6 separate regions of the Homo sapiens genome follow, and all the other regions are linked to region 2. Evidence: promoter capture Hi-C in human tissues and cell types (Jung and others, 2019). All regions are on one chromosome and are shown on one strand. The core of a region is centred on a gene start or on the middle of the fragment in contact, and the rest is flanking DNA. Distances in the headings are between cores, read along the strand shown.

Region 1 (3,313 bases), core at 780-3,279, 390 kb after region 2:
CCTTGGCAAAATAAACCTGCAGTCAATTAAGATCTACCTCAGTCACTCTTTGGTTTATGCTGTAATGGACAGCAGAGGTCCAAGCAGCAATCAGAGTTGTCTGAGTCATAGAAACCTATGGCATTGGCTAGTTGATCATGGCGTTTCTCAAAGTAAAATAGATAGGAAGCCTATGAAATTCTTAATCTGCATAAGCAGAAAAGCTCTAGGTTAAGTGACAAAAGTCTAACACGAATCATAAAAACAGAGAATCATGATCCCTCAATTAATTCCCAGAATTGAGCCTGTTTACAAACCTAAAACCCCTTAAATGAAGGGGAGGCTGGAGCCCTTGAGGAAAGGCCCTGGTACCCTACTAAATGTTTATACTGTTAATCTTTCTCTCAGTTTTCCCCAAAAGAGATGTATGGCCTTTTTACTAGGGTAACTGTGCATTGAGAAAAGAGAAATAATCAGACCTCTCAGGGCTTACTGGACATTGGCTCTGAGCTGACACTAATTTCAGGAGACTCAAAATATCACTGTGGCCTGCCAGTCAGAGGAGGGACTTTTGAAGGTCATGCGGTCAATGGGATTTCAGCTCAGATCCATCTCACAGTGGGTCTAATGGGCCCCAATGCCATCCTGTGGTCATTTCCCCAGTTCTGGATGCACAATTAGAATAGACATACTTAGCAGCTCACAGAATCTCTACATTGGTTCCCTGAATCGTGGAGTAAGGGCTATTATGGTGGGAAAGGCCAAGTGGAAGCCACTAGAACTGTGTCTACCTAGGAAAATACTAAACCAAAAGCAATACGACATTTCTGGGGGAACTGTAGAGGTCATAAAGGACCTGAAGGATGCAGGGGTGGTGATTCCCACCACATCTCCATTCAACTCTCCAATATGCTTTCCAATTTGGCAGAAGACAGGTGGATCTTCGAGAATAACAGTGGATTATAGTAAGCTTAACCAGGTGGCAACTCCAATTGCAGCTGTTGTTCAGATATGGTTTTATTCCTTGAGCAAATTAAAACACTCTCTGGTACATAGTATGCAGTTACTGCTCTGGCAAATGCTTTTTCCTCTCAATACCTATTAGTAAAGACCACCAGAAACAGTTTATTTCAGGTGACAAGACAACATTCTTGATGAACATAAATCCAAAAATCCTCAACAAAATACTAGCAAACTGAATCTAGTAGCACATTAAAAAGTTAATCCACCATAATCAAGTGGGTTTTATCCCTAGCATGCAAGGTTGATTCAACATATGCCAATCAATAAATATGATTCATCACATACACAGACCTAAAAACAAAAGCCGCATGATCATCTTACTAGATCAGAAAAGAATTTCAATAATATTCAACATCCCTTCATGTTTAAAACCCTAAACAAACTAGGCATTGAAGGAATATATCTCAAAATAATAAGAGCCATCTATGACAAACTCACAGCCAAAAACATACTGAATGGGCAACCCAGTATAGGCAGGACTGTACTGAATTCTGGAAGCATTCCCTCTGAGAATTGGAACAAGACAAAGATTCCTACTCTCACCACTCCTATTCAACATAGTACTGGAAGTCCTAGACTGAGCAATCAGGCAAGAGAAAGAAATAAAAGGCATCCAAACAGGAAAAGAGGAAGTCAAACTATCTATGTTTGCAGATGATATGATTTTATACCTAGAAAACCTCATATTCTCTCTGCCCCAAAGCTCCTACATCTGGTAAACAACTTCAGCAAAGTTTCAGGATACAAGATCAATGTACAAAAATTAGTAGCATTTCTATATACCAACAACATCCAAGCTGAGTGCCAAAACAAGAACGCAATCCCATTCACAACAGCCATACACATACACACACACATACATATACACACACACAGACACACACATACGCAATACCTAGGAATACAGCTAACCAGGGAGGTGAAAGAGCTCTATAATGAGAATTATCTTTCAAACAGATTCTTTTATTATTCTTTTCTGAAAGAAATCAGAGATGATACAAACAAATGAAAAAACATTCCATGCTTGTGGATAAGAAGGAATCAATATTGTTAAAATGGCCATACTGCCCAAACCAATTTACAGATTGAATGGTATGCCTATCAACTTATCAATGACATTTTTCACAGAATTAGAGAAAAATTAGAAAAATTTTTAGAATTAGAAAAAAACGATTCTAAAATTTATATGAAACCAAAAGAGCCTGAATAGCCAAAGCAATCCTAAGCAAAAACAACAAAGCTGAAGGCGTCACATTACCCAACTTCAAACTATACTACAAGGTTACAGTAACCAAAACAGCATGGTACTGGTACCAAAACAGACACATAGACCAATGGAACAGAATAGAGAGCCCACAAATAATGCTGCACACCTACAACCATCTGATCTTCAACAAAGTTGACAAAAACAAGGAATGGAGAAAGGACTCCCTGTTCAATAAATGGTGGTGGGATAACTGGCTAGCAATGTGCAGAAGATTGGAACTGGACCCCTTCCTTACACCATGTACAAAAATCAACTCAAGATGGATTAAAGACTTAAAAGTAAAACTTAAAACTATAAAAAATCCTGGAAGATAACCTAGGAAATAACATTCTGGACATAGGCCCTGACAAATATGCCTATGCCTATGTTGTCTTTCATGACAAAGACACCAAAGCAATTGACAAATGGTACCTAATTAAATGAAAGAGCTCCTGCATAGCAAAAGAAACTATCAACAGAGTAAACAGACGACCTACAGAATGGGAGAAAATGTTTGCAAATTATGCATCTGACAAAGGTCTAATATCCAGAATCTAAAAGCAACTTAAACAAATTTATAAACAAGAAAAAATCCCATTAAAAAATGGGCAAAGGACATGAACAGACACATTTTTTTTTTTTCCAAGACAAGGTCTCACTTTGTCACCCAGGCTAGAGCACAATGGTGCAATCTAAACTTACTATAGCCTCCACCTCCCAGGTTCAAGCAATCCTTCTGCCTCAGCCCCAAAAGTAGCTGGGACTCCGGGTGCATGCCATCATGTCTGGCTAACTTTTTTGTACTGTTTTGTAGAGATGAGGTTTCACCATATTGGCCAGGCCGGTCTTGAACTTCTGAGCTCAAGCAATCTGCCCACCTCAGCCTCCCAAAGTGCTAGGATTACAGGAGTGAGACACTGTGCTCGGACATGAATAGACACTTTTAAAGAGACATACCCGTAACCAATAAGCATATGAAAAAATGCTCAACATCACTAATCGTTAGAGAAATGCAAATCAAAAACCACAATTAGACCCATCTCCCATCAGTCAGAGTGGCTATTA
Region 2 (3,326 bases), core at 101-2,600:
GGTGAGAAATAATTTTCCAATAGAGTTATAAAGGAATTGATCCATTGCTTTCTAACTTCTGGTTTTGTTATTAAGTCTAAAGCCATTCTCATCCTTGATCCTTTGTATGTGACTTATTTTTTTCCTATCTGGAAACATTTTTTTTCTGTTTATTCTTGATATTCTGAAACTTCACTGTTTTGTACTTCAGTGTAGATTTATTTTCATTTATTATGCTGTTTACAGTGGGCCCTTTCAATCTGGAAACAAATGTTCCTCAATTCTTGGGAATTTTATTGTATCACTTCTCTCATTATTTCTTTCCCTCCATTCCTCTGTTCTGTGCTTCTGTACTGCTGGTAGTCAGATGTTGGCTATTCTTCATCTCTTTGTCTTTTCTTCTATCTTCTGGAAGATTTCCTCAACTTTATTTTCTAGTCTTTAGACTTCAGCTCTCATATTTTGAATCTCCAAGAGTTCTTGTTCTCTAATTATGCCTTTATCATAGCATCCTATTCATATTTTGTGGGTACAACATTTTTTCTTATTTTCTATGAAGGTTTAACTAATATTTCTTTTAAAAAATATTCTGCTTTCTGCATTGCCTTTCTTTCAAGTTTTTTCCCCCCATCTGCTGTTGGGATGGGAGAAATTTAATGAATTTGGCTTTGTGGGGTTAGGATTAGGTAGTCTATTTCTTTTTCAGATTTTCAACCAATCTTATGATTTTTGTTTCAGAGGTATAGTCAATTCTCATTATTCCTTCATTATTCCTGGCAATTATGTTCAATAAAATCGCCACAAACACTGAATTAGAAAATACTGCTGAGCGTGGTGGCTCATGCCTGTAATCCCAGCACTTTGGGAGGCCGAGGCAGGTGGATCACCTGAGGTCAGGAGTTTGAGACCAGCCTGAACAACATGGAGAAACCCCGTCTCTACTAAAAATACAAAATCAGCTGGGCTTGGTGGCGCATGCCTGTAATCCCAGCTACATGGGAGGCTGGCCTGAGGCAGGAGAATCACTTCAACCCGGGAGGTGGAGGTTGCGGTGAGCTGAGATGGCGCAATTGCACTCCAGCCTAAGCAACAAGAGCGAAACTCTGTCTCAGAAGAAAAAAAAAAAGAAAAAAAGAAAATACTGAATTATTCTCTGTGGGGGAAATATAGAGTTAGGTGCCTGTGAGCCTCTGGTCACAACATTTTTGTCAGCTAATCAATACATAACCTTGTTTTGTGTGTGTTTCTGTTTAAAGACACCTTATTTAATATACATTGTTGATTCATCAACATTGAACTCATGGCTAATAACAGTACTATGACTCATGCCTGAATAGAGCTTATTTAACACACATATTTTCTCCATGAGGCACAGCCTCCTTCTGCTTAGGAACACCAGACAGCACTCCAGCACTCTGCTTGGGGGGCATTCGAAACAGCAAAATCACTCATAAAAGGCAAAAAATTGCAAAAAAAAATAGTAATAACCAGCATGGCACTAAATAGACCATGAAAAGACATGTGTGTGCAGTATGAAAATTGAGACAGGAAGGCAGAGTGTCAGCTTGTTCCACCTCAGCTGGGAATGTGCATCAGGCAACTCAAGTTTTTCACCACGGCATGTGTCTGTGAATGTCCGCAAAACATTGTGAGTATTGATTTGGGGGGTTACAAATAATTCCTAGCAAGTAGGTGAATTCACAAATAAGGAAGCTGTGAGTAATGAGGGTTGATTTTACCTACCTAGTGTCTCAAATCCTGAGCCGTATGAGATTCCGTGGCATAATTATGTTTGCTTATTGTTGGCAACCTTATTAGGCATTTCTAGGTTTCTGCTTTCTCATCTTTACCAGTTCAGTTATGGCTTGATTCATTTCTCTTTTTCCAAAGATTTGTTGACATCTCTTATTTGCTGTTGCCTCTTCCCATTTGTTTTGTCTTGTGGTTCTATATCTTTGCCATAATTTTTGTGGAGTTTCCTGAGAGAGTAGAGATAAATGTATATGCTCAATTGGTCTTGTCTTAACCAGAATTCTATTTAATACACAACACCTTTAGTGAGCTGTTATGCATGTAATAGGTGTTTACTAAGTATTGGTTGAATAAATTCAAGAAATGCTTGCTATTTTTGTGCTAGCATTTAGCTTTTCTCTATAGTATATTATAATGGAATTTTATTTTATTTTATTTTATTTATTTTTTGAGACAGAGTTTCACTCTTGTCGCCAGGTTGGAGTACAATGGCACGATCTTGGCTCACTGCAACCTCTGCCTCCCGGGTTCAAGCGATTCTCCTGCCTCAGCCTCCCGAGTAGCTGGGATTACAGGTGCCTGCCACCATGCCTGACTAATTTTTTTGTATTTTTAGTAGAGATGGGGTTTTGCCATGTTGGTCAGGCTGGTCTCAAACTCCTGACATCAGGTGATCCACCTGCCTCAGCCTCCCAAAGTGCTGGGATTACAGGCGTGAGCCACCACGCCTGGCTGGAATTTTAAATATCTCATAATTATAATCTTCTAGGTAAAAGACTAGCTCTCTTTCTCACCCTTATTCCTCCTACTTAGTGGAACATTGCCTAAGGAAGATGGGGAATGGGTTAAAAATTAAAATGTGGGGCTGGAAAGCATAGCTTGTTTTAAAACTTAGTTTTCTTTCCTTTTGCATCATAATCTCTTCCCCGGTCTATTTATTTCTCGTGGTTTTGTCAGTCCATTACAAACGGTTGCAAAATTGTGGTACTAGAAGGGATCCTAGAAATAATCTAATTTGAACCTTTGATTGCTAGGAAACTGAGAGTCAGGCTGCCTTGGTTCAAGTCTTGGCTCCACCACCCATGTAGGACATGTTGCTTACTGTTTTGACCTCAGTTTCCTTGCCTATAAAGTGGGAATAAAAATACTCCTGATGTTATAGGATTGTTGTGAAGATTAAAAGAGATAATTAATGTGAAGTTCTTAGTACTATGCCTGACACACAGTAAGAGCTCCACAAATTATTAATGATGATTATTACTAGTGGCTAAACTGAAGCTCTGGTTTCTCAGTTCAGTATGTTTTCCTTTAGACGTAAATAAGAATTTGTAAGCCTCTTTTTGGAGTCAGCTACCATTATTTTCTTTCCTTCATCTCCTTCATTGTCTAAAGACAGTTAACATGATTGCGTATTTCTCATTTCAAGCTAAAGATACTCTCACTGTTTCAGCTATTACCACATTTGTAAGGACTTCCTGAAGAGAAAATTTAAAAGTTAGTCACTTCTTTTAGTTGTTTCTGGTCTTTCAGATGATCCTTTTTTTTTGTAGAGTTGAGTGTTTTTGTTTTTGCTTTTGTTTTTAGTTAACAATAAT
Region 3 (3,476 bases), core at 353-2,852, 390 kb before region 2:
TGAAGTCCAGTAAAAGGTTTATAATAGCAGTAATAGCAGACAGAGCGCAAAAGTGTGCTACGTGCAAGAGAGAGAATGGCGGGGAGAAAAGAGAGTCAATGGGAAAAAATCAAGATCAAAAACCAAAATTGTAGGAGGATATTCTCATCCTTACATGTAACTCTGACTCATTTATACAGTCAACAAAAATGACTCATTATGGGTGCTTATGTTCCTTTCTCCCCAATGTCAAGCATCATAATTTTATAATTAAAAGCTTATATGGTGGCAGGCTGTAGAGATACATAAGTTAAAAGAGCAGATTACACTATAATCCTAAAAAACTATAGACAATATTTAGACTGGATTTTTTGCATTTTTAGCTTTCTGACTTTCAAAATTCAAGAGAAAAATAATAGGAAAGTATGTATCCAGCCAAACTACACTCCACAATAGAACAGCAATGCATACCCACAGTTATGTACCACTATTATACAGCTCTGAAATTGGCAACAACTGACTCATTCTGGAAAGACAGATGGAAATTACATTTTTCTAGGAAGATACAAAGTCTTTCTAAAACTTTTTCTATATTTGATTTTCCTTGCTCCTTGCTTCAGAACCCCAAAGCTTACTAAGGGAGCTTATCTTAAAAGCTATAAACAGGCCTGGTGCAGTGGCTCACGCCTATAATCCCAGCACTTTGGGAGGCTAAGGTGGGCAGATCATGAGGTCAGGAGTTTGAGACCAGCCTGGCCAACATGGTGAAACCCCGTCTCTACTACAAATACAAAAATTACCCGGGGAGGGTGGTGCAGGCCTGTAATCCTAGCTACTCTGCAGGCTGAGGCAGGAGAACCGCTTGAGCTTGGGAGGCAGAGGTTGCAGTGAGCAGAGATCACACCACTGCACTCCAGGCTGGGCGACAGAGTGAGACTCCGTCTCAGACCAAAAAAAAAAAAAAAGCTATAAATAATAATTACTTTCAACATATATAGCTCTTCAATTTCAGTTATCCAAAATTAATTCTGCTTTTAAAGAGGGTGCTTTCCCAACCCTTACACAGGACTGTAAGCGGACACTTGCATATGGATGGCTGTAGAAATTTTAAATAGGTAAAAAGCCTAAGTATACTTAGGTTAAAAGTGCAATCAAAGTAACAGTATATGGCAGCCAATTTATATACACCAGGAAGAGACAGTGAATGAGTATGACATGTATATATCACAAAATAATTATTTTTATACCATTTTAAATAAATATATTTCACATTTTGTCAAAATGGCTTGTGCAAGAAACAAAAATATCATCAATAAGAAATATCACAAGAAAATTCTCAGCTAAAACAAAATAAGATTTATGTACCTGAACCAGAGAAATAATATATGTATGAATAATTTGCAAGGGGGCTCACGCCTGTAATCCCAGCACTCTGGGAGGCCAAGGTGGGCAGATCACAAGGTCAGCAGTTCGAGACCAGCCTGGCCAATATGGTGAAACCCCATCTCTACTAAAAATACACAAATTAGCTGGACGTGGTGGCGGGCGCCTGTAGTCCCAGCTACTCAGGAGGCTGAGGCAGGAGAATCGCTTGAACCCGGGAGGCAGAGGTTGCAGTGAGCCAAGATCACGCCACTGCACTCCAGCCTGGGTGACACAGCGAGACTCTGTCTCAAAAAAAAAAAAAAATCATTTACAATGACATTTTCTAGACTTTAGGTACACTCATCACCACAATGACTTTCTTAAATTTGCTGGCTGAGAGAAAAGATTAGAGTTTTCCTGCCTAACTTATTAACATGTTGGTTGATCCAAGAGAGATATTAGAGACATAGGCATGGCATTTGGTGGAAAAGTACAAAACAGAGAATCAACACCCTGATACTGAAGTCCCACTTCCATTTTATTAAGTTTCTAGAATCAAAAACAAGATGCTAATCCTTACTGTGCTTCAAGTTCTTTATTCATAAAAGTGGGACAATATTATTGTCCATGCCTATGTTACAAGAATGCCAAAAGGATGAAAATGAGTAACAAATGGTCAGCATGCAAAAGCTTGGATATTTATGCCAGAAAATAAGAAGATAGTTAACTCCCAGGTTAATCTATGATCACTGAAAATAAACACCTTTCTTCATTTGGTTATAAGTAAATAATAAACTAATACATATATGCTTTTTTTTCCTGTAGCTTAGTCATGTATTAACCTTAAAAAAAAAAATTAAATATATGAAGATGTATATTGTAACCCCTAGAGAAACAACCAAAAAAACAGATAACATGTCAGTAGGATACTTAAATTGCTACACTAAAAAAAAATTGTTTCATACAAAGGAAAGCAGTATAGGAAGAACAGTAACAAAGAGACGAAACATAGAAAATACATAGCAAGGCTGGGCGTGGTGGCTCACGCCTGTAGTCCCAGCATTTAGGGAGGCCAAGGTGGGTGGATCACCTGAAGTCAGGAGTTCGGGACCACACTGTCCAACATGGTGAAACCCCATCTCTACTAAAAATGCAAAAATTAATTGGGCGTGGTGGCGCATGCCTGTAATCCCAGCTACTCGGGAGGCTGAAGTGGGAGAATTGCTTGAACTCAGGAGGCAGAGGCTGCAGTGGGCCAAGATTATGCCACTGCACTCCAGTCTGGGCAACAGAGGAGACCCTGTCTCCAAAAAAAAAAAAAAAAAAAAAAAAAAAAACACATAGCAAAATGGCAGAAAAATCCAGCCATATTGGTAATTACATTAAATTTGTGATCAAAGGGCAAAGATTTTTCAGTCTGGATTAAAAAGAATAAGCAAGATATGACTATATATTGTCTCTAAAAGATACACTTTAAATTCAGAGATTCGAATAAGCTAAAAGTTTTACTTATAGAAAAATATATAACCCAAACAATAAGCATAAGAGAATTAGAGTGACTATATATTAATATCAGGCAAAATAGACTTTAAAACAAAGAATATTTCTAAACACAAAGAAATACATTGATACCAAAAAGGAGCAATACAGCAGAAAAAAAAAACGACACTTGTAAGTGCTACATATTGAACAGCACGGCCACAAGATAAAAAAACAAAGTTTACGCAAATGAAAGGACAAAAAGACAATTCAACAATTATAGTTAGAGATTTCAAGCTCCCCAAAAAATAACTCATAAAACATGTTGGTTAAAAAAAAATCAGTAAAGATATATAAGATTTGAGTAACACTATCAACCAACTTGACCAAACTGATTTCTATAGAACATTTCACCCAGAAAACACATGCTCTTCAAGTGCACATGGAACATTCTCCAGAATAGACTGTATGTGAAAAATGTGGGGGCCCAGGGGGATGGGAATCAACTAATTTGAAAGAATTCTAATCATATAAAGTATGTTCTCTAAACACAATGAAATTAAATTAGAAATCGATGACAGAAAGATAAATGCAAAATCCCCTACATAATCCACAGATCAAAGAGGAAGACGCAAGGGAAATTAGAAAGTATT
Region 4 (3,197 bases), core at 524-3,023, 280 kb after region 2:
GCAATAGGAATACCAGAAGGAGAAGAGAAAAAGGAACAGGATAAATATTTGAAACAATAATAACAACTGAGAATTTTACCAAAAAAATTGTTAGACACAAAAGCTCAGAGAACACCAAGCACGATAAATGCCAAAAACAACAAAAAAAAACAACAAAACAAACAAAAAACCCTATGCCTAGGCATATTATTTTCCAATTACAGAAAACCAAAGATAAAGAAAAAGTCCAGAAGGAAGCCAGAGGAAAAGAACACCTTACCTATAGAGGAGCAAAGAGAAGGATTACCTCTGATTTCTCAGAAACCATACAAGCAAGAAGAGACTGGAGTGAAATACTTAAAGAGTTGAGAAAAGCCTCCCATCAACAAGAATTCTGTACCTTATGAAACTGTCCTTCAAAAGTGAAGGAGCAATAAATACTTTCTTAGATAAACAAAAATTGAGGGAATTTGTTACTGGTAGACCTGCATTGTACTAGATGTTAAAAGTAGTTTCTTGACGGGTGCGGTGGCTCATGCCTGTAATCCCAGCATTTTGGGAGGCTGAGGCAGGTGGATCACCTGAGATCAGGAGTTCGAGACCAGCCTGATCAATATGGAGAAACCCCGTCTCTGCTAAAAATACAAAAATTAGCCGGGTGTGGTGGTGCGTGCCTGTGATCCCAGCTACTCGGAAGGCTGAGACAGGAGAATCGCTTGAACCCGGGAGGCAGAGGTTGCAGTGAGCCGAGATCGCGCCATTGCACTCCAGCCTGGGCAACAGAGCAAGACTCCGTCTCAAAAAAAAAAAAAAAAAAAAAAAAAAAAGTAGTTTCTTAGAAGAGAAGAAAAATGATATAGGCCAGAAACTCTGATTTACGTAAAGAAAAGAAGAACGCTGAAGAAGGAATAAGTGAAGGTAAAATAAAAACTTTTATTTTTTATTGTTAATTAACCTAGGAGATAATAGTTTGTTCAAATTACTAACAGCTACAATGTATGCTAATGCATCTATCTTTATATCTATATACATATATATAAGCTTATGTATGCTTATATATAAGTAAAATGAATGACAGCAATCATACTAGGGACAGGTGGAAGGAATTAGAATCATTTAGTTATTATAAAGTATTCGCACTACCCATGAAGTGGTATAGTGTTATTTTGAAGTGGATTTCGATTAGTTGTAAACATACTTGGTATACTCTAGGGCAATCACTAAAAAAGTAAAAAAGGAAGTATAACTAATATGCTAAGAAAAGAGAGAAAATAGAATAATACAAAATGCTAATTAAAACCACAAAAGGTGGAAGAAGAGTAGAAGACAAAAATAGGAACAAAGAATAAGGGCATGGGCGGATCACAAGGTCAGGAGATCGAGACCATCCTGGCTAACACGGTGAAACCCTGTCTCTACTTAAAATACAAAAAAAAAAAAAAAAATTAGCTGGGTGTGGTGGCGGGCGCCTGTAGTCCCAACTACTCAGGAGGCTGAGGCAGGAGAATGGCGTGAACCTGAGAGGCGGAGCTTGCAGTGAGCAGAGATCGCGCCACTGCACTCCTGCCTGGGTGACAGAATGAGACTCTATCTAAAAAAAAAAAAAAAAAAAGAATAAGGGCAGCAAATAGAAAACAGTAACAAATATGATCGATGTTACTCTAACTATATGAATAATCACTCTGAACATCAATGGTCTAAATGTACCAATCAAAAGACAGAGATTGTCAGGGTGGATAGAAAAATAAGACCCAACTATATGTTGTCTATAAGAAACCCACTTTAAATATAATGACACATATAGATTAAAAGTGAATGAGTGGTGAAAGATTTACCATGAAAACACTAACCAAAAGAAAGCAGGAGTAGCTATATATTATAATTCTAGACAGTGCAGACTACAAAACAAAGAAAGTTGTTAGGGATAAAGAAGGGTATTACATAATGATAAAGAGGTCAGTTCTCCAAGAAGACATAACGATCCTTATGTACCGAACAACACAGCCTCAAAATATGCGAGGCAAAACCTGATAAAGCTGCAAGAAGAAACAGATGAGTCCGCTTTATAGTTGAAGACTTCAACATCCCTCTATCAGAAATGGACAGATCCAGAAAGCAGAAAATCAGTAGGAATATAGTTGAACTTAAAAATACAATTAATTGGCCGGGCACGATGGCTCATGCCTGTAATCCCAGCACTTTGGGAGGCTGAGGTGGGCAGATCACAAGGTCGGGAGTTCGAGACCAGCCTAGCCAACATGGTGAAACCCCATCTCTACTAAAAATACAAAAACTAGCTGGGCATGGTGGTGCATGCCTGTAATCCCAGCTACTGGGGAGACTGAGGTAGGAGAATGGCTTGAACCTAGGAGGCGGAGGTTGTAGTGAGCCGAGATTGTGCCACTGCACTCCAGCCTGGGTGACAGAGGAAGACTCCGTCTCAAAAAAAAAAAAAAACAATTAATTAATTGGATACAATTGATGTCTACTGACTACTTCATCTAACAGCAAAATACACATTTTTAACAAGCTCACATGGGACCTTCACCGAGATAGACTACAGTCTGGGCCATAAAACAAACCTTAACAAAAGTGAAAGAATAGAAATCATACAATGCAGGCTTTCAGACCATGGTAGCATTAAACTACAAATCAACAACAGACAACTGGAAAATTTCTGAACATGTGGAGATTAAACAATATAAGTAACACATGGTTCAAAAGAAGAAATTGCAAGATAAATTAAAAAAATACTTTGAACAAAAGGAAGATAACATCAAAATTTGTGGGATGTAGCAAAAACAATTTCTCAGAAGAAAATTTACAGCTTTGAATGTATATATTAAAAAAGAAGAAAGATCTAGAATCAATTATATAAGCTTACATCTTAGGAAGCTAGAAAAAGAAGAGCAAATTAAATCCAAAATAAGCAGAAGAAAAGAAAAAATAAAAATTAGAGAAGAAATCAATGAAGTAGAAAACAGAAAATCAATAGAGAAAATCAATGAAACCAAAAGCTGGTTCTTAGAAAAGATTAATAAAAGTGATAAGCCTCTAGCCAGGCTAGAAAAAAACAGAGGGAAACAAATTACTTAATATCAGAAATGAAAAAAGGTACTTCACTACAGATCCCATGGACATTAAAAGAATGATGAAGAAATACTTTAAACAACTCTATTTTCACAACTTGATAACATATTTGAAATGGACCAATTCCT
Region 5 (3,691 bases), core at 525-3,024, 440 kb before region 2:
TGGCTAAGGTTGCCTTTTCTGACCTAGCTTTACCTTTTGTAACCTAGCTTTGTTATCATACACCATCATTTCCACCACATTCTCTTGATTACAGGTGAGTCATAAACCCTCCTGGATTCAAGTGGGGGATAATTAGATTCCAACTCTTGATGGGGAAGTGGCTATTGTTCAGTATGGCTTTCTGTGATAATTGGATTGTTCTGTGTCTACACTGTTCAGTATAGTAGCCACTATTTAGCATTTGATGTGTGCTTAGACAAAGGAACTGAATTTTATAATTTATATCATTTTAATTGAAATTGAAATTTCCACGTATGCACATGGCAGTCTTTATAGATCAGTGCAATTCTAGAAGAATGTGGTATAGGAGATGCTGTTGTGGCCATCTTTAGAAAATACAATTTATGATACTGTTCTAAAAAATGTGTTCGTTATTTCCCACCACGAGGAATGTCTCCTGCCTTAGGAGCCAGCTTGCCTCTGTCCTCCTTAACTGGAAAGTCATAAACTGGTAGCTCAAGCAATATCCAGTCTGAAGATATATCTTGTTTTGTCCATATAGTGATGATCATAATTCTCAGTGAATATATAAAAGACACTTTTGAAACAGTTTTTTATGTACTCAGCATGGCCAGGATGGACAGGACTAGAGAATTACAGGCCTTGTAAATGATTTCAGACTTTCTTGGTAAAAATGTAATTATATCGTTCATCTGTCCAGATGTTACAGACTCAGATGTCTTCATAGAACCAGGAGACTGTGGTGAACAGGACAACTCTTAGCCACCAAAAGGGGGCAGTGACTACCCAGCCCTAGTTAGTTGTTATCACAGGATAATGTGCTATTGGATTTTAATTAATAACATATCCAGGATTAAATCTAAACTGCAGTACTGGTCTACTGATTTATATGCTAATGTTATTGGGATTATTTCCTTCTAATAATTACCTGTTTTACAATTAATATAGAAATTAATTTCCTTTAGATATCTACAACTAGATTTTGTGTTGAAAGAATGGAAATTGATTTTATTCCAAGATACATTTTTCATTTATAGTAATAACAATATTATATCAAAGTTTGTTAACTTTCCCCCAAATTTGCAAAAACTGGGGCATCATCCTAGACTCCTTCTCTCACCCATTTTGCCTTTTTAAACATTGCCACTGGCTAATGTGTATCCCTCATTATTTTTGGCCTCAATTACTGCAGTTGCCCTCCTGATTATTCGTTGCCTCCCTTCTTGAGTTTTCAAAACCCAAAGCACAAATCTGGTATGTCGTTCCTCTTTCCTTCTTGAGATGGGATTTTGCTCTGTTGCCCAGGCTGGGGTGCAGTGGTGCAATCTCGGCTCACCGCAGCCTCAACTTGCCAGGCTCAAGTGATCTTCCTGCCTCAGTCTCCCAAGAACCTGGGACTGTAAGTGTGTGCCATCAAGCCTGGCTAATTTCTTTTTTAAGTTTCTGTAGAGATAGGGTCTTGCTATGTTGCCCAGGCTGGTCTTGAACTCCTGTAATTAAGCAGTCCGCCCACCTTACCACCCAAATTGCTGGGATTACAGGTGTGAGCCACTTCACCCAGCACCCAGCCCCTTTGTGCCATTCTATTTGGTAAAAGTCCCTCAGTGATTCCTTATTGCTTTTAGAATAGATTCCATAATTTAGTATATTGTTACTCTCCCTCTCCAGCAGTCTGTTGCCACACCCCACACATGCTTTTCCTTTTGCTTCATATGACCTTTCACCCCCACCCCATATCCTGCGATTCTTGCATATTTTTGCAAAGAACTTCGAAACTTGCTCTGAACTTCTTCAATCTGGTTTTAGGCTCCTCACCTTTTTTTCCTCATAACACTTGTATAAATCAATTATTAGAGCACTCTGTTAAACCACTGTTCTGTGATTATCACCTTACTTGTCTGCCCCCAATGTTAGACTGTAGCTTCTTGAAATAGTCTTTCCTCGTTTGTATTGTTGCACTCTTTGCTTGACTTAACTCTTAAGCTTAACACTAGAGACCCAAATTTAGTTTTTGACTTTTATTTATAAATATTTTAACTGTTAGTAAAGATTATAATAGTTCATGGCTTTATTCTTTTTTAAAGACTTTGCAAAAAATAAAGGCAAAGTTTACTTTTTTAATAATACAGTACAGTTATTGTATGGGTCAATTGAACCCTGATTATAGAAGTCTAGAAACATCATCTTTGTAGTGTTTCTTTTTTAGCTTGAATTGAACACAGTTGCAAATTCAGAATTTTTCATTTTCCACCCAAGAAGAAAAATAAGTGAAGATATTTTGCAGTTATTACTCAAATCAGAAGATAAACACAAAGGGACAAAAAGCACTGTAGTCAAAGTGATAATGGTGAGATTGATTATATAAGCAAAGTCTCAGACCCTAAGTAAATTCTCAGACATAATAACTAGTGCATGAACAATATTTTTATTTATTTATTTATTTATTTATTTATTTATTTATTTATTTATTTATTTTGAGACAAGGTCTAGCTCTGTCACCCAGGCTGGAATGCAGTGGCAAGATCATGGCTCAGTGCAGTCTTGACCTCCTGGGCTTAAGTGATCCTCCCACCTCAGCCTCCTGAGTAGCTGGGACTACAGGCGTGTGCCACCACGCTCAGCTTATTTTTGTATTGCTTTGTAGAGACAGGGTTTTGCCATGTTGCTAGGCTAGTCTTGAACTCCTGGGCTCAAGAGATCTACCTGTTTCAGCTTCCCAAATGAGCCAGGAGCCACTGTGCTCTGCTGAACAATATATTTCTAGGGATATATATATATATGAGATTATTATTCATGTAATCATTCAACAGAAAGGGCCTAGTTATGTAACGTCTATGATAAGAACCTGGACCATCTCATTTTGCTAAAAGGACTTGTAATAATAGTCTTTCATCTTTTATTATTTGTGCACCAAAGTTTCCTTATATGGTCCACAAGTGGTCAAATACACAGTTGTGTATATAAGGAAATTGGAAAGAGATGATGAAGAAATTTTTTAAAACCTGTTGAATTGATCATTCTAATCTTTGTAATAATAAATATATTGTCCTTATAAGTCTGTATATGAAAATGTTTCACAATTATGGAGCAAAGAAGATGACCTTCCTCTCAACAAAATCAAGTTGTCAGTTTAAAAAACTGTATTTTGATGATGCAAAAGAGGAATCAAAAGTAATAAGCTAGAACTTAAAAGAGATGTAAATCTGGACTTGTACATTTTGACAGTGCAAGTGCAAGAAGAAACAGACGTAGTGATGAGCTAGTACCTACCTGTTAGAGATGTACTTGAAATCTAGAATTGTATTTCCTAGATGGATATTTTTCAGATTTGTGGATGACAATTGGTGAGCAGCAGTTTGTTGCATTTAAAGGCTCTTGCCCATCTTGGTTATATACACTTTCAGCCTTTGGAAAATATGAATTAAAATGTGAGTCTTCTGGCCAGGTGTAGTGTCTCACACCTGTAATCCCAGCATTTGGGGAGACCGAGGTGGGAGGACTACTTGAGCTCAGGAGTTCTAGACCAGCCTGGACAACATAGCAAGACCCCATCTCTACTATAATATAAAAACTTTAAAAAATTAAAACATAAAAATAAAAAAATGTGGTTCTTCTTATGAGTACATTCTAATTAAGATTTCTAGTAAAATTGTTTTTCATTATCTTTATT
Region 6 (3,240 bases), core at 401-2,900, 330 kb before region 2:
TACTGATGCAAATGAACCAAAAGGCAAGGCAGAATCTGCCGTGACAAGCTGCCAATTAACTGAAGGGCTCATCTGCTACACGTTTCCTATATGTCATTTTCCTGGACACCCCACCCTGAAAAAGACTCAGGAAACATTTCCAAGCAGTGACAACTGAGGACTAAATCACGAGATTCTAACTATATCTGCTAGAATGCATTACCAAAGGTCACTCTGAACTCCATACACGATTCATCTAAAACACAGGGAGAGACAAAGATCTTCCTTTCCTGTGAAAACCTGAAAGGAATGCCTATAACAACGCTATTTGAAGAAAAAGTCTGTGAGCATGTTACTGAATAGGGGAAATTAGTTACATCCTCCAGTATGATATAACCTCATTGCTAATGCTTAATAGTTATTGGGAGTCTGAGATATGAAATATTAAAGTGCCTCTTCTTTTTGTTTGTTTTTATAGATACAGAGTCTCGCTCTGTTGCCCAGGCTGGAAGTGCAGTGGCACAATCACAGCTCACTGCAACCTGCAACTTCTGACCTCAAGCAATCCTCCTGCCTCAGCCTCCCAATGTGCTGGGATTACAGGTATAAGCCACTGCTCCCAACTTTAAAGTGCCTCTTTTAGACAGCAGATATACTCAAAATGGTAAGCAGAAACTGACTCTGAAACTACATCATAACTAGTTAAACATAAAACTAAAATAGTTACAAAATATTTAAGCCATCTAAAATAATCATTTTGTTTTGTTTTGTTTTGTTTTGTTTTGTTTTGTTTTGTTTTGTTTTTGAGACGGAGCCTCACTCTGTCATCCAGTTTGGAGTGGCGCAATCTCGGCTCACTGCAAGCTCCACCTCCTGGGTTCACGCCATTCTCCTGCCTCAGCCTCCTGAGTAGCTGGGACTACAGGCGCCCGCCACCACGCCCAGCTAATTTTTTGTATTTTTAGTACAGACGGGGTTTCAGCGTGTTAACCAGGATGGTCTTGATCTCCTGACCTCGTGATCCACCCACGTTGGCCTCCCAAAGTGCTGGGATTATAGGCATGACCCACCACGCCAGGCCCAATAATGATTGTTTTTATAGACAATGAATTCCCACATTCTTGCCTTTCTCACCCTCTCCATATTTTTTTTACTTTTAATTTTTGTGGGTACATAGTAAATATACATACATATGGGGCACATGGGATATCTTGATAGAGGTATATAATTTATAATCATTACATCAGGGTAAATGGGGTATCTGTCACCTCAACCATTTATTCTTTGTGTTACGAACAATCCAATTATACTGTTTTCGTTATTTTTAAATGTACAATTAAATTATTATTGACTATAATCACTGCTGTACTATCAAATACTAGATCTTATTCATTCTACCTATTTTTTGTACTCATCAACCATCCCCACTTCACCCTCTCCATTTATTACAACCTTTCCCAAATACACACTAGTTAATCTGCATTCAAAAGTTATAATCCTCAAAAATGCACTTCCCAATTCCTGACTATACCATTGTTAGCCAGGTTGCCTTGGGTGAGTTTCCCAACTTTCCCAGCCCTCACTTCCGTCATCTACAGAATGCAGATGACCAAGCTCCTAAGAGAGTTGTCGAGAGACTGCACTGGCTGTACCAAGCCTAGAGAGCACTAAATAAATGTCAATTATTATTTTTATCCATTCTGGCATTTAGAAATAAAAGTTACAAAATTCACTATTAAAAATACCATTGATACATACCATATTCCAGCCACACTGGCCTCTTTTCTGTGACAAAATGCCCTTTTCTTCTTTTGCCCTCAACACCTGCTCCTCCCTATGCTTGGAATTTTCCCCCAGCTCCTCCACGGCCAACTCATTTTGTTCCTTAAATCTCAAGTCCAATACCTCTCAATTCAAATATTCCCCCTTTAGAGAGCCTTCATTGAGACTGCTATCCCCAAAAGTCTAACTTTCTTATAATCTTGCTTTAATTCTGTCATAGCTTTTACAAACATCTGTAATTGTCTTATATACACTGGTATGGAGAGCTGATCTTTTTTGCACTGGTATTTGCAGCTCCTAGCATTGTATTACAGCAAATAATGTCTGCTTAATAAATAAATAAAAAATGATGCAATGTCAAATACTTTAAAACAACATTGTGCTCACACAATTTTAAAAACAATTTGAGTTTAACATATGTCACAATGTTTGAAAAAGAGTTTAGATGCAGCAGTGTCCAATCTTTTGGCTTCCCTGGAGTACACTAGAAGAATTGTCTTGGGGCACACATAAAACACACTAACACTAACAATAGCCAATGAGCTTAAAAAAAAATTGCAAAAAAATCTTATAATGTTTTAAGAAAGTTTACAAATTTGTGTTGGACCATATTCAAAGCCATCCTGGGTTGCATGCAGCCTGTGGGCCATGGGTCGGACAAGCTTGGTTTAGGGAGAGGGAGGATATAGAGAAGTATTACACAACGGTTTTTCCTTGCTGCCTGTTTAATCGCCAAGAGCAATTCAAATAACAGAATTTATACAAATGAGGATGTATAATTAAGGTCATTCAAAAGTTTTGGGAATATTGGGCCAGGTGCAGTGGCTCACACCTGTAATCCCAGCACTTTGGGAGCCAAGACGGGTGGATCACCTGAGGTCAGGAGTTTCAGACTAGCCTGGCCAACATGGTGAAACCCCATCTCTACTAAAAATACAAAAATTAGCCCGACGTGGTGGTGGGCACCTGTAATCCCAGCTACTCAGGAGGTTGAGGCAGGAGAATCGCTTGTACCTAGAAGGCAGAGGTTGCAGTGAGCCAAGATCATGCCGTTGCATTCCAGCCTGGGCGACAAGAGTGAAACTACGTCCCCCCCCAAAAAAAAGTTTTAGGAATATTAACTCTACTTTTTTATAAGTGGAGTAATCATTCCCAAGACCTCAGCAATAAAAAGGTGACTAGAGTGTAGCTAACTCCACTTTCTGGAGTAAGCTGAAATTCAGGACTTATCACTGTATAAAATAACAGTTTTTCCATTCGTTTAATTACTCTCCACCACAGACCTACACAGATCAATTTTCACCATGGCTGGAATTACCACTACTTAGAAATCATGTATGTGGCTTTCACACATGACTAATAAAACACTAAGTTTCAAAAGCATTCCATGAGTACTCATGAGAAACATTTTAAAGTTTGTGTTTTTGTCCCTAATACAAAACTAGTTGATGTTATTTCTACTAATATAATTATTATGTT

What was found. Contacts are between HindIII fragments. The study calls those that stand out against the background at their distance.
Region 1: a contact is called between a fragment that was not itself captured here and the fragment with the promoter of IL31RA in region 2, in 2 of the 25 tissues and cell types used here (adrenal gland and hippocampus).
Region 3: a contact is called between a fragment that was not itself captured here and the fragment with the promoter of IL31RA in region 2, in 1 of the 25 tissues and cell types used here (mesenchymal stem cells).
Region 4: a fragment that was not itself captured here is called in contact with the fragment with the promoter of IL31RA in region 2 in 2 of the 25 tissues and cell types used here (adrenal gland and aorta).
Region 5: a contact is called between a fragment that was not itself captured here and the fragment with the promoter of IL31RA in region 2, in 3 of the 25 tissues and cell types used here (IMR-90 fibroblasts, mesenchymal stem cells and pancreas).
Region 6: a fragment that was not itself captured here is called in contact with the fragment with the promoter of IL31RA in region 2 in 1 of the 25 tissues and cell types used here (pancreas).

What each region holds. Positions count from the first base shown.
Region 1 is chr5:56,236,939-56,240,251 of GRCh38, forward strand. No RefSeq gene overlaps it. Among named protein-coding and RNA genes, the nearest start is that of ANKRD55, 5.3 kb to the left of the region's middle. RefSeq lists an enhancer at 3,218-3,313. The HindIII fragment of the contact is 3,787 bases long and covers 137-3,313 here.
Region 2 is chr5:55,850,007-55,853,332 of GRCh38, forward strand. It overlaps IL31RA (interleukin 31 receptor A), which reads left to right and starts at 1,351. Exons shown (of 15, transcript NM_139017.7): 1 at 1,351-1,627. The coding sequence starts at 1,565. The HindIII fragment of the contact is 16,782 bases long and covers 1-3,326 here.
Region 3 is chr5:55,456,236-55,459,711 of GRCh38, forward strand. The region is part of intron 3 of PLPP1 (phospholipid phosphatase 1); the gene reads right to left. Among named protein-coding and RNA genes, the nearest start is that of MIR5687, 51 kb to the right of the region's middle. The HindIII fragment of the contact is 4,795 bases long and covers 1-3,476 here.
Region 4 is chr5:56,131,018-56,134,214 of GRCh38, forward strand. All of the region lies in intron 7 of ANKRD55 (ankyrin repeat domain 55), which reads right to left. It overlaps LOC101928419 (a long non-coding RNA gene), which reads left to right. Exons shown (of 2, transcript XR_241794.2): 2 at 1-439. Among named protein-coding and RNA genes, the nearest start is that of ANKRD55, 100 kb to the right of the region's middle. The HindIII fragment of the contact is 3,461 bases long and covers 44-3,197 here.
Region 5 is chr5:55,406,473-55,410,163 of GRCh38, forward strand. All of the region lies in intron 22 of MTREX (Mtr4 exosome RNA helicase), which reads left to right. Among named protein-coding and RNA genes, the nearest start is that of MTREX, 100 kb to the left of the region's middle. The HindIII fragment of the contact is 6,080 bases long and covers 1-3,691 here.
Region 6 is chr5:55,521,958-55,525,197 of GRCh38, forward strand. The region is part of intron 1 of PLPP1 (phospholipid phosphatase 1); the gene reads right to left. Among named protein-coding and RNA genes, the nearest start is that of PLPP1, 11 kb to the right of the region's middle. The HindIII fragment of the contact is 6,739 bases long and covers 1-3,240 here.